Linked DNA regions of Homo sapiens: region 1 is linked to region 2. The links are contacts of gene promoters, found by promoter capture Hi-C in blood cells and fetal thymus (Javierre and others, 2016). All regions are on one chromosome and are shown on one strand. The core of a region is centred on a gene start or on the middle of the fragment in contact, and the rest is flanking DNA. Distances in the headings are between cores, read along the strand shown.

Region 1 (5,896 bases), core at 2,748-5,247, 550 kb after region 2:
GGGCGTCACCTACCCTCATCAGGTACCACCAATTTTCTGGTAATAGTTGCCAGCTATGAAGCTGTCATGCCTTAGTGAAGCTGAAAATCCTTTTTAGAGTTTACCCTGCAGTTCCAGTTAATGAGGTGGCAGAAACATCATAACTCAAATAGCATAATCTTTGTTGCATACAATGATAAAAGCAACTAGTTCAGGATATGATTATATTTCTTAATGGTTGTTTTTTATTCTTGTCTCTTCTTCCATCCTCTATTCACAATACTCGTAATTACTTTTCCAAATTCTAGAGAAGAGGGTTCTGAAAAAAGTTAATGTTGCCAAGAAGTTAATTGACTTGATTAATTTGAAATGGACCTGGATCTGTTGGTTTGAAGATTGCCTAGGTGGTAATAGAAAAGTGATCTAGGAGAAGAGGGTTCAATTAATACCTTAGTCACATTCAAGAAGTTTTTGATATTAAAATATATATATTGAAAAAAACATAAAGTCTTTAAAAAATTAGTAACTTGTTATTTGTTGTGTCTTTTCAGGGAGAGCCTGGGGTCAGAGGCCCTCCAGGTCCTTCTGGGCCTCGGGGCGTAGGAACCCAAGGGCCAAAGGTGAGTCCTCAGCTCAGTGCTTTGTGTGAGGGTCAGATATCATCAGTGACAAACAAGTGAACAGTAACTTCATAATAAGTGTTCGTCTTGGTGTTGACTTATTTTTTTCTTGGTGACTGATGAAACGTCTTATTTTTCATATCAGGTGAACGTTCAGTAAAATAGAACATTCGAGTTTATAAAGCCATTCACTTCCCCCAAAAGAAATGAGCAAGTCAGCCTCTTTTTAACTGCAAAGTGCTCAGAACATTTCTGGGTTTCTTAGAGGCTGTGCCGTCATCAAGAAGCACATCTTTACTTTGGCAGAGGTGCCTCAGGTGGCTTTTTTAACAGGTCACCTGCTAATGTGTCATTGTGCCCTTTGTGCCACAGCTACTCTGGCAGGGTGTCAGTACAAGGGTCTAGACTGATTGTCCCTGGAGAAGATGAGAGCAACTTCTTTTGGCCCAGTTTCCCTCCTTTCTATGTCTCCTTCAGTTTGGTGGTTATTCATCCTTTTATTCTTTTAATCCAGTGTTTCTCAAAGAGGGAGACTTTGTTTCCCTTCCCTGGCTTCAGAGAACATGTGGCAATGTCTAGGGACATTTTTTGGTTGTAGTAGATCAAGTCCAGAGATGCTGCCAACCATTCTACAATGCCCAGGACAGCCTCCCATCAGAAAGAGTGACTCAGCTCAAAATGTTAATAGTGCTGAGTTTGAGAAACCTAGTTTTAATTGTTCATTCAGTTGCTCAACAACTTTCTTTGATTTGTTCGAAAGTAGGGTAAAGAAGTAGCAAGCATGTTCAATAGGGAAAATAGATGTCAATGAACCACCCACCACAAATTCAAATTTTGAATTGGTATATTCATGCCGAAAATGCACAGAAGTGAATTAGAGCCCATTCTCAGAGAGGAGAGGGAAAAGGCTGTATGAGTCAAAGATTTTACTGAGCATCCCAGAATTACCAAGATTCTCAGTTTATCTCTGTTTTGTCCCTCAACTCAATTTTGGCGGTATGCTATTTTTGAACCTTCTAGATCACTTTAAATGGATGAAGATCCCCCCAAGATGTTAGTAGTCATTATCACTGGGTGATGGGAAGATGGGTCTATTTTTCTTGTTCATGTCATCTTTATTTCTGTTTAATTTTTTTTTTTGCAATGGGCAGGTATTCCTCTTATAATCAGAAAAAGTCAAGCTTTTTTAATACTGGAAAGTAAAAGACTGACTTATACAATAACTTATATTAACCCAGCACTTCTGAAGGCTTCTTCCATCCAGTGTTAATTTAGGAACTTCTGGGATAAGCAACGTTACACTAATTTCTTTACTGTGGGACTTGTTAGAGCCATTAGTCTACTATATTAGTGTGCACTGGAGATCTCCAAGGGAAAGCGCATGCTATTTTCCAATCTTATTCCACCACGAAGTGTTTCCAAAGAAACATGGGCTCAGTTTATGAACAGATACTGGGAAATGCTACACTTGCTTATAGCTTCATCTACACATTTTCCTAAAAATTTGGACATTGATATCCACTGGATCTTTAAGTGCAACCCCAGTGAAATCACACCTTATATTGAAATGGAGCAACATCTTAAGGCTATGTGGAGCCACATGTCAGTGGTTTTCATATGTGGTGCAGGGCAGCCCTGGTGTTCTTGAGCTTGGTGGTAGGGCAGTGAAGGGGGCCCAAGCAGATGAGGCCCTGGGCCTCCATTTCTGCTTAGGCCCAGCGGCTCTGCTTACTGCTTAATTTTTATTTGGATTATATTTAAGGTTTTGTTTGCATAGAATTCTGTGGTTTAAAAATATTGGGGAAGCACTCTAAGTAAAATAGGAAGTAGCTTATAGGCAGCATGAAAGTCCTGGTCAGACTGAAGTAAGAATGCAGCTGAGAGTAGTAATACTTAACGTTGTTTCTTCTTCGATCTTCTTACATTTTGTCTTCAAATTCTCCCCATCTTCTAACAGGGTGATACTGGGCAGAAAGGCTTGCCTGGCCCTCCTGGCCCCCCTGGCTATGGATCACAGGGAATTAAAGTAAGTGAATAGGGTTGTGCTGGAGTCACCTCTGATTTCACCAGAGTGATTGGGAGAAGAGGTTGTAGATAACGCAAAAATGGCTATTATGAAATAGATTTATTGTGAGCCTCGCAGTTAAATGGCATCCAGTGTTTAGAGACATCATCTGGAAGTGTAAAAATGGTATGAGTACAATACTTCAGCAAATGCTAAACATTATATAAATTGCTTGGTGCAAAAGTGAACTGTTCTATGGTTTGTTGCTTTCCCCTCTTTGTGAATTGAATGGAGAATTTATACTCAGTTGCTCTCTCTCTCTCTCTCTCTCCCCCCCCCCTCCCTCCCTCCCTCCCCCCTCCCTCCTTCCCTCCCCCTCCCTCCTTCCCTTACCTTCCTCACCTGTATCCTCCATGGTAGCCCAGGGCTTCCCAATCTTAGCTCACAGTGGAATCACCTAGGGAGCTTTTGGATAGTACTAATGCCCTTTCCCAGAGGAACGAAATCCGAATCTCTGGGAGTAGAGTGTGAGTGCTGTGGTTTTCAAAGCTCTCCAAGGGATTCTCCTGAGCAGCCAAGGTGAGAACCTCTATTCTAGGCCCTGAGTCTGTGTTACTGGAATTCATAGCCATCTGCATGTCACTTTGCTTCTGCGTCAGCAGCAACAAGCTTGTCCAGCATGCTGGGACTCTCAGGGTCTCTCATGTCTCAGTAGACAAATTTGGCATCTAAACATTACTATGTAATTCTAAAAAATTCCCTCTTCTGCTTCTAATATGTTGATGATGTTGTTCTTATCGGTTCACTCTCTTTTTTTCCGATTCCACTGCTGCCCCCGTCATAAGCTGGTTTTTTATTTTACATACATTTATATATATATATATTTTTACCATGCTTAAGCTTTGAAACTGAGTTATTCACCTCTGGATGATTGAGATTGATTCTAAAACTGTGGGAACATTCAAAATAAACTCCTTTTCAAATAGCAGAACTTCTTAGTCAGTAGGAGACAGTAGGAGCTTAAGATAATGTGAAAATCCTGTGTTGAAATTAAACTGCCTACTTCTGTGTAGAGAGAGTAAGCTTAGTCAAGAGCAGAACTCATAGAATGTGTGTTAAATCTCCAGTTTTATCACACAATGTCTAGAGCTTCTACAGCAGGTCTTCTAAATAACTGTTGTTCATCTCTCGGGCTGAGTATCTAAGCAAAGGCCAAATAGGCATGTTGCCCATATTGTACAAGCCCTGGAAAGAAAATACAGCAACACTCTGCTTTCTCATAAACAACACCAATCTCATACTTAATCTTTAAATTCTGTGGTTAGAAGGTGGTAGTGCTGTATACCCAGTTTTGCATGAGTTTGCTTAGGGAATAAACCTATGCCAAACCACAGGTCCTGTCACCAACATGAGCTCAGTTCACACATGCTGTTAGGTTATTGCTGCCACGTCTTTAGGCCTGGGGCCGGTTTTCTCCACTTTGTTATCTGGGAACTACTTCCTCATTCTCACCTGGGTTGTGTTTAATTAATCCTTACCGACTATAACTTATCTGGCTTCCTGCCTCTCCTTATGCCCTCAGGGTTATGCTGTGTCTAAACTCCATCCTGGGTGAAACCAGGTCCTGAAGCCTCCCATCACAGGAAAGCACCAAAATCAAAACTGCCACGTATCCCATCTTATCAGAAATGAGATAAGCTTTTCCTTCACTTAGGGCTGTAGCCTGATGCTGCTTAGCAGTGAGCCCTGACTAAGGCTCACTCATAAAACTTCTCTAGGCCGGGTGCAGTGGCTCATGCCTGTAATCTCAGCACTGTGGGAGGCCAAGGCAGGCAGATCACTTGAGGTCAGGAGTTCAAGACCAGCCTGGGCAACATGGTGAAACCCCGTGTCTACTAAAAATACAAAACTTAGCTTGGTGTGGTGGTGCATGTCTGTAGTCCCAACTACTCAGGAGGCTGAGGCATGAGAATCGCTTGAACCCAGGAGGCAGAGGCTGCAGTAAGCTGAGATAGTGCCACTGTACTCCAGCCTGGATGACAGAGTGAGACCTTGTCTTCCCAAAAAAAGAAAACTACCCAGCACTTTGGGAGGCCGAGGTGGGTGGATCATGAGGTCAGGAGTTTGAGACCAGCCTCACCAATATGGTGAAACCCCATCTCTACTAAAAATACAAAAATTAGCCAGGCATGGTGGTGCGTACCTGTAATCTCAGCTACTCAGGAGGCTGAGGCAGGAGAATCGCTTGAATCCTGGAGGCGGAGGTTGCAGTGAGCCAAGATCGCACCACTGCACTCCTGCCTGGGCAACAGAGTTAGACTCTGTCTCAAAAAACAAACAAAACAACCAGAAAAACCTCTTTAGACATATTGGATTGCCTGGCATCCAGTTGGTAGCAGGGCAGAGGTTCGTCCCTCAGGACTTCCATCTCATTTTCCTGACTGTGGCAAAAACCGCAATTACTTTTGCACCGACGAAATACCATCACTGCAAAAGGGAGGGAACTGAAAAACCAAATTGGTGGCATTCTTCTGAGTCATTTCAAGGATATAGGAACAGTAAAATTTCATTTCTTACATTCATTTGTTGACTTATTTCCTACCCCTTTCCAAAGAGCATTTGAATCAGTGAAATCTGCTTGCAGGTGTGTGTGCTTAGTAGCCTTTGACGGAAAGCTTTGTTGCTGTTAACCTTTAACACAGAAGCCTGAACTGTACTCTGTCTCTCTATCCCCTTCCACTTATGGGAGAAATAAGGGTTGTAGCTGCAATCACAAGTGATTTGCTTCAACCTAACTTAGTTGCTAGAATATTGGCTCTTCAGCCAGTCATTCATTCATTCAGCTGACCAACCAATACGGATTGAGCATCACCTATGTCAGGCAAATAAGCCAAGTGCTAGTATAAAGTAGTGAGTAAAAATATGTGAACTTAGTCCTCATGGAATTTACAGGCTATAAAATAATTAAACTTTGAGTTCTGGAGAGTATAGAGGATGGCACAATGGAGTGAATTTAGATTACAGCAGTAGGCAGGGCCCTTGTGAGGTCCTATAGGCCAAGTAATGAGTTTGGCCTTAATCCTAGGAGCAACTGGAAGTCAGAGAAGAATGATCTGATCAGTTTGGAAGAGACTCACTCTGGCTACCATTTGTAGAATGAATGGACATGACTGGAAGGAATGTGGGAGTAGAAGGGCTTCTCTTTCCATGCCCCTTCCTATTCTCTTGATTCTCTATGTGGAAGAGTATGATCTTCTGGGAACTTCTTTCCCCGGCCTTTCCTGGGGCTCTG
Region 2 (5,322 bases), core at 1,469-3,968:
CAATGCTTATTTTATGCCTCTTAGTCCCTACAAGAAAATCCCAAAACTCAATTTGTGCACTGTTGAAGCGAAATCACTAAAAAATTTATGTAACTGTTTTCTGTTCGTTCTGTTACTTCTCATTTCATACAGTTCTAGAAAATGTGCAAAGGAGTTGCATATGGCATTAATCTGTTAGAAAATGGTGGCCTTTTCTATAAAATACAGCCAAAGATGTGTGTTCAGTTGTGGTCATTATTAGGGCGATCACGTTGTTTTCATTCATTCATTCAGGATTTGCTGGAGGATGTCAGTTTCTGCAGCAGCTGGCTTGACCTGGGGGAGGAGTGCAGGAGCATATTCCTCCCAATGCATACAGATTACAGGATGTATTTCTTGCTGCTCATGTACTCATCCCACTGCACTACATCCTACACTGGTTCACCATCAAGTGGTCAGAAAACAAGTGCGTTAGCAACATGCTAATTACGGGTCTGAAATATTAAAACAAAAACACCAAGACTGCAATGTATCATAATGCAGACAACCACTTTCTCCAACTCTAACACCTTCATCAAGAAAGCTCCATTAAAAAAAAAAATTCCACATACCACATAAACAATGTACAGACTTTGACAGTGTTTCCCTTCCAAGCAGAGATTTTTCCACCCAGTATGATCTGTTCCCTCCACAATGCAGCAGCAGCATCTGTAGCTCTAGTTCGGTATCTAACAATATTAGCTATTCCACTCTCCCTTATGAGCTTTAAGTCCCTGTTTTGGCTAATCTTCCTTTTCTCCCCCAGGGCTCAACTAAATCATGCACTGTGTCCCTAGACATAAACAAAACCAAAGCAAAACAGAAAACACTAAGGGAAACCCACAGCATCCACCAGCTCACCATTACCTTTGACACCTAACAAAAAAAGAAACTTGAGATCCTTGAACAGCTCAACTGAACTGTTAAGTGTACTTAAAAATGGAAGGAAAAAAACGAACACGTTCCACAAATAAGTTTTCAGAAATTTACCATGAAAATCTCCGGTAGAGCACAAACTGTTTCCAGTGCAGGAGTGCTCTGATGCATGAATATATAAAGGGGAGGGGGAGAAAGAGAGGGAGAGAGAGAGGCGGGGTGGCGGGGGGCTGGGGGAGAGGGAGAGAGGGAGGACTGAGGGAAAAAACCGTATACACTTCAATTGTACATTCAAAACTGTCCCCTCTAGCAGATATCATTACATCCAGCCGATATCCTTACATCGAAACTAATGCCACCAACCCTCTAAAAAATAAAATACTATCCCGGTAGTTACAGGCACGTTAGGAACTTTGCAGAAAAGCACAAAGAGACGGTAGAGATTACAACCGCCACCTTATCCGCTGCTGAAGAGTTTGTGTGCGTGTTAAGTGTTTCGCCCAGCTTCTCCTTCCCCGGCTACAAACGGCAAACACACGAATGAGCTAGCCAGCTCTTAAACTGAAAAACCTCTCGAAGCAGGCGAGTGATGGAAGAGAGACTCTGAGGGGCGGCATGAGGGTCAAATAAAAGTCGCTTTTCAGTTCGCTCCTCCAAGCCCCACAGCGACCGCAGGGGGGTGAGATTCCCAAAGCCACTTTCACACCTTCGATAATGCACTAGCAAAGAGAAGCCCGAAGAGGCTGAAGTTTCCACGGAGGGCACCGTCGGGGAGACGCAGCCCGGGAGGACGGGAGGGTTGGGCTCGCTACCTCTGCACACGGGCGAGCCGGGGCTCCGTCTCTCAGGTGAGCTGCTCCTCCGGTGGCTCTCTGGGGACCGTCTCGGGCGGCCCTTGGCCCGCGGCGCCTGCTCGGCCGGGGCTGCGGCCGCCGGCGGCGTCGGGCTGGACGGGCTGGGGCCGCGGGCCGCGCCGGGCCCCGGGAGGCTGCCCAGCGAGGCGGCGGCAGCGGCGACGGGCGGACGCGTGGGACTGTGCTGGCTGCCCCGCAAGAGCTGGTAGGGCACCGTGGCGCGGATGGGCTGCAGCAGCCGGCCGGCTCCCGCAGCCGGGGCGCAGCCCACGCCGCCGCCGCCGCCCGCACCGTTCCCGCTCCCGGCGGCGGCGACGGCGGGCGGGGACCCCGCGGCGCTGCGCCTCATCCTCTGCGACGGGGGATGAGGGGTCTGAGAGGAACTGGAGGAGGAGGAGGAGGAGGCAGTGGACATGGTGGCTCTGCGGGCCCTGGACGCCGCCGGCCGACACGGAGGCGCGGGGCGGGAGGCGCGCGAGCGTGTGGGAGCCGGCGCGATAGTGCGTGCGAGTGTGTAAGGGGGAGGGGCGGGGGTATCGCTGTGGGGGAGGAGTCTCGGGGCTCCCCCTCCCCAACGCACACCCCCGCCGCCTCGGCGAGGGGGGAGGGGAAGGCTGCGAAAACAAACGTCCAACGGCCGCAACCGCCCGGCTGGGCTCGGTGTGGCGGTCACGGCCGGGGCCGCAAGGAGCCCGGAGCCGCCGCCGCCACCGCTCCAGGCATCGTGCTGACAGGGCAACGGCCCGGATCACGCAGCCCCGAGGGCCGCTCGCAGCCTTCTCCTCAGCCCTCGCAGGGCTGCACGCACGGGAGAACCCGGCAGCTGCAAGGAGGGCCGGGACCCCTGCTTCTGGGGACCAGGGTAGAGAGAAAGGGCCTCGAGGTGCTGGCGCTCCTCGGAGTCCGCGCCACCGCAAACGCCGCCGCCGCCGCCGCCGCTTCTACCCACTCCTCACTCCGAATGGCAACTAATTCGCCCCAGCCGCACCCCGCCCCCGGCACCGCCTCCCAGCGCCCAGGACCCGGCAGCTGCCGCAGCGAGCATTTCCATTGGCTTAGGCGCTCCCCACTAGAACTCGAGTGATTGGTTCTGGAATAGGAGTGAGAGAAGCAGTGTCCAATGACAATGGTGCCTCCTACTTTGAAGGCGGGGCGTGAGGGGTGGCAGCGTGAGGTGGGGGCTGTGCGCGCAGGGAGGAGCGTAAAAGTTGACAGCCTTGAGGTAAGTGCGAGACTAGGAAAGTGGGACTGTGTGTGTCCTGCGCGTGTCCCGACACCCCCAGACACGCAAACGCCCCGCTAGGCAGGTTGCAGGGGCTCCACCCTCCTGGGCCGTCTGTATGACTTGAGACACAGGACACATGAGGCAAACTTTAATTTGCAAGTACACCTGCATCCGGTGGGATGTTTTAGTTAGAACCAGAAGACTGGATCTCTTTTAGTAAGCTGAGTTTTCGTGACCAGTAGCCTTATTAATCAAAAGAACTTCTGGTGATCAGGAGAAATGTCTGGAACCTGCACTGAACAAAGTAAAATACTCTTACAGCCTAACATTTGTAGTTATGCAGTGAAAAGAGATTATCAAGTTCTATGTTCCAAGACAATAACACTGAATAGCAGGGGTCAACAAGGAATTTTATGTCATTACACCATCAGTTAGATATATTAATGAAGGGCGCCCCTGGCTTTTCCGAAGCAGATAGCTTCTTGGGAGGAATAAATACCAGATGTAATGTAATAATCCATTGTGGTAAATTTGTTTTTTATTCTGTAATGAAACTGAAAGCGTACAAAGATTTTGGATGACTATCAAAAACATAAATTTACCCCACAGTAAACCAAGGTTTTAAACCTTAATCGGGAGCAATTAATGTAAGGATCTTCATCAGATAACTTTCATTAATTTTCAAGAGGTTAAAAGAGAAGCACAATGTCAAATTGGTCTGCTCGTGGTGTCTGCCCACACTGACAAGCTTCCTCTGATTTCAGGCACTATATGCAGGGGTCACTTTCACGTACAGGAGCCATCCTTCTTTTCTTCCTTGTGTGTTCAGACGAGAAAGCATACTAGGTTCAGTAAAAAAATTGATGAAACTCAATAAAAATACAAAAATTTCATGCAGTACTTCATCCAAGTAAAACTAGTGATAGTTCCTCAGTTTACCACATATTATAATAAGAGCTAACATTTATTCACCATGTGCCAGCCGCTATTCTAAGAACATTATGTGTGTTAATTCATTCAGTCCTCATATAATCCACAAGGTAGATACTATTATTATCCTTACTGTGGTCTCAGTTGTGGCATAAATAAGCTGTCTTGCCTGAGATCACATAGTTAGTATATGGGGAGCTAAAAATTTCACCCAGACAGACTGGCTCAAGAGTCTGAGGAAGCACTCTGCTATAGTACCTGGCAGCTCAAAGCTGTGGGGTACATAATCTGTAGAGTATTCACAATGGCCCACAAATCTCATCTGTGAGATAAGTTCCCATCAGTTCAAAGGAAATTTTACAAATGAAGACAGACCACTACTTTTTTTTTGTTTTCCAGAATAACATATATTTTAATTATGAATAAAAACTTTACTCTTTCAAATTTTATATAAATGGCCTATCTCATTAATTTAAAAACTGCATTATTTTGTGTGTAAAAAGAATGATAAATGATTTCTTTTCAGTGACTTTTCTCAGAATAGCAAGAACAAAAAATCTGACAGATTAAAAATATGTAAAGCTGGCTAGGTGCGGTGGCTCACGCCTGTAATCCCAGCTCCTTGGGAGGCCAAGGCAGACGGATCACTTGAGCTCAGGATTTTGAAACCAGTCTGGGCAACATGGCAAAACCCCATCTCTACTAAAAATGTAAAAATACTAGCTGGACGCGGTTAGGGAGGCTGAGGTGGGAGGATCACCTGAGCCCAAAAGGCCGGGAGATCAAGGCTGCAGTGAGCCTTGATCACACCACTGCACTCCAGCTTGGGTGACAGAATGACACCCTGTCTCAAAAAAAAAAAAAAAAAAAAAAAAAAGAAGAAGAAGAAGAAAAAAAGTTAAGATTTTTCTTTTACATGCTGGTAAATTTCTGAGTTGTTGCTTTGATTACAGCATAGTTGCATTATAGAAATGTCATCTCTAGCTACTCCTAAATATATTTATGGAACAACTTCAACACATTAGGTTACAATAATTCTAAATTTATTCTAGGTCACAATCACAATGATCAATACCTAATTTGGATCTAAAGCAACATACCTAGTCATATTTTAAGGACTTTCTGTGTTTGTTCAAATCTACCACAGCTGACTTAGACATCTAAAGCAAATCTAAATAACTCACACAGAGAAACAGAGAATTAGTATGATCTTAAAATACTATTTTCAGTTACTAGTAAGTCATTATGACCAATCTAGAAGCTCAGTCGTTTCTCTTTGCTATAGAAACCTTGGTTGTCTCTTAAACCTTTATTCTCACGACGTAAGTACTGATCTTCATATTTAAGGAATACAGGCTTCAAACAAATCAAAGGTGGCCTAAAATAAATTAAACTCAGTGCCTGCTTTCAAATGTCCAT

Evidence for each region. The method cuts DNA at HindIII sites, captures the fragments that hold promoters and counts their contacts. A CHiCAGO score of 5 or more calls a contact.
Region 1: a fragment that was not itself captured here is called in contact with the fragment with the promoter of GLCCI1 in region 2 in 1 of 17 cell types (erythroblasts); the score reaches 5.4 in erythroblasts.

Annotation. Positions count from the first base shown.
Region 1 is chr7:7,414,588-7,420,483 of GRCh38, reverse strand. It overlaps COL28A1 (collagen type XXVIII alpha 1 chain), which reads left to right. Exons shown (of 35, transcript NM_001037763.3): 26 at 531-599; 27 at 2,557-2,625. Among named protein-coding and RNA genes, the nearest start is that of COL28A1, 120 kb to the left of the region's middle. The HindIII fragment of the contact is 615 bases long and covers 3,690-4,304 here.
Region 2 is chr7:7,966,192-7,971,513 of GRCh38, reverse strand. It overlaps GLCCI1 (glucocorticoid induced 1), which reads right to left and starts at 2,718. Exons shown (of 8, transcript NM_138426.4): 1 at 1,707-2,718. The coding sequence starts at 2,163. GLCCI1-DT (GLCCI1 divergent transcript) reads left to right here and starts at 2,762. Exons shown (of 5, transcript NR_110018.1): 1 at 2,762-2,970. RefSeq lists an enhancer at 1,256-1,345 and silencers at 1,826-1,905, 1,996-2,055, 2,136-2,535, 2,746-2,895. The HindIII fragment of the contact is 4,760 bases long and covers 1-3,723 here.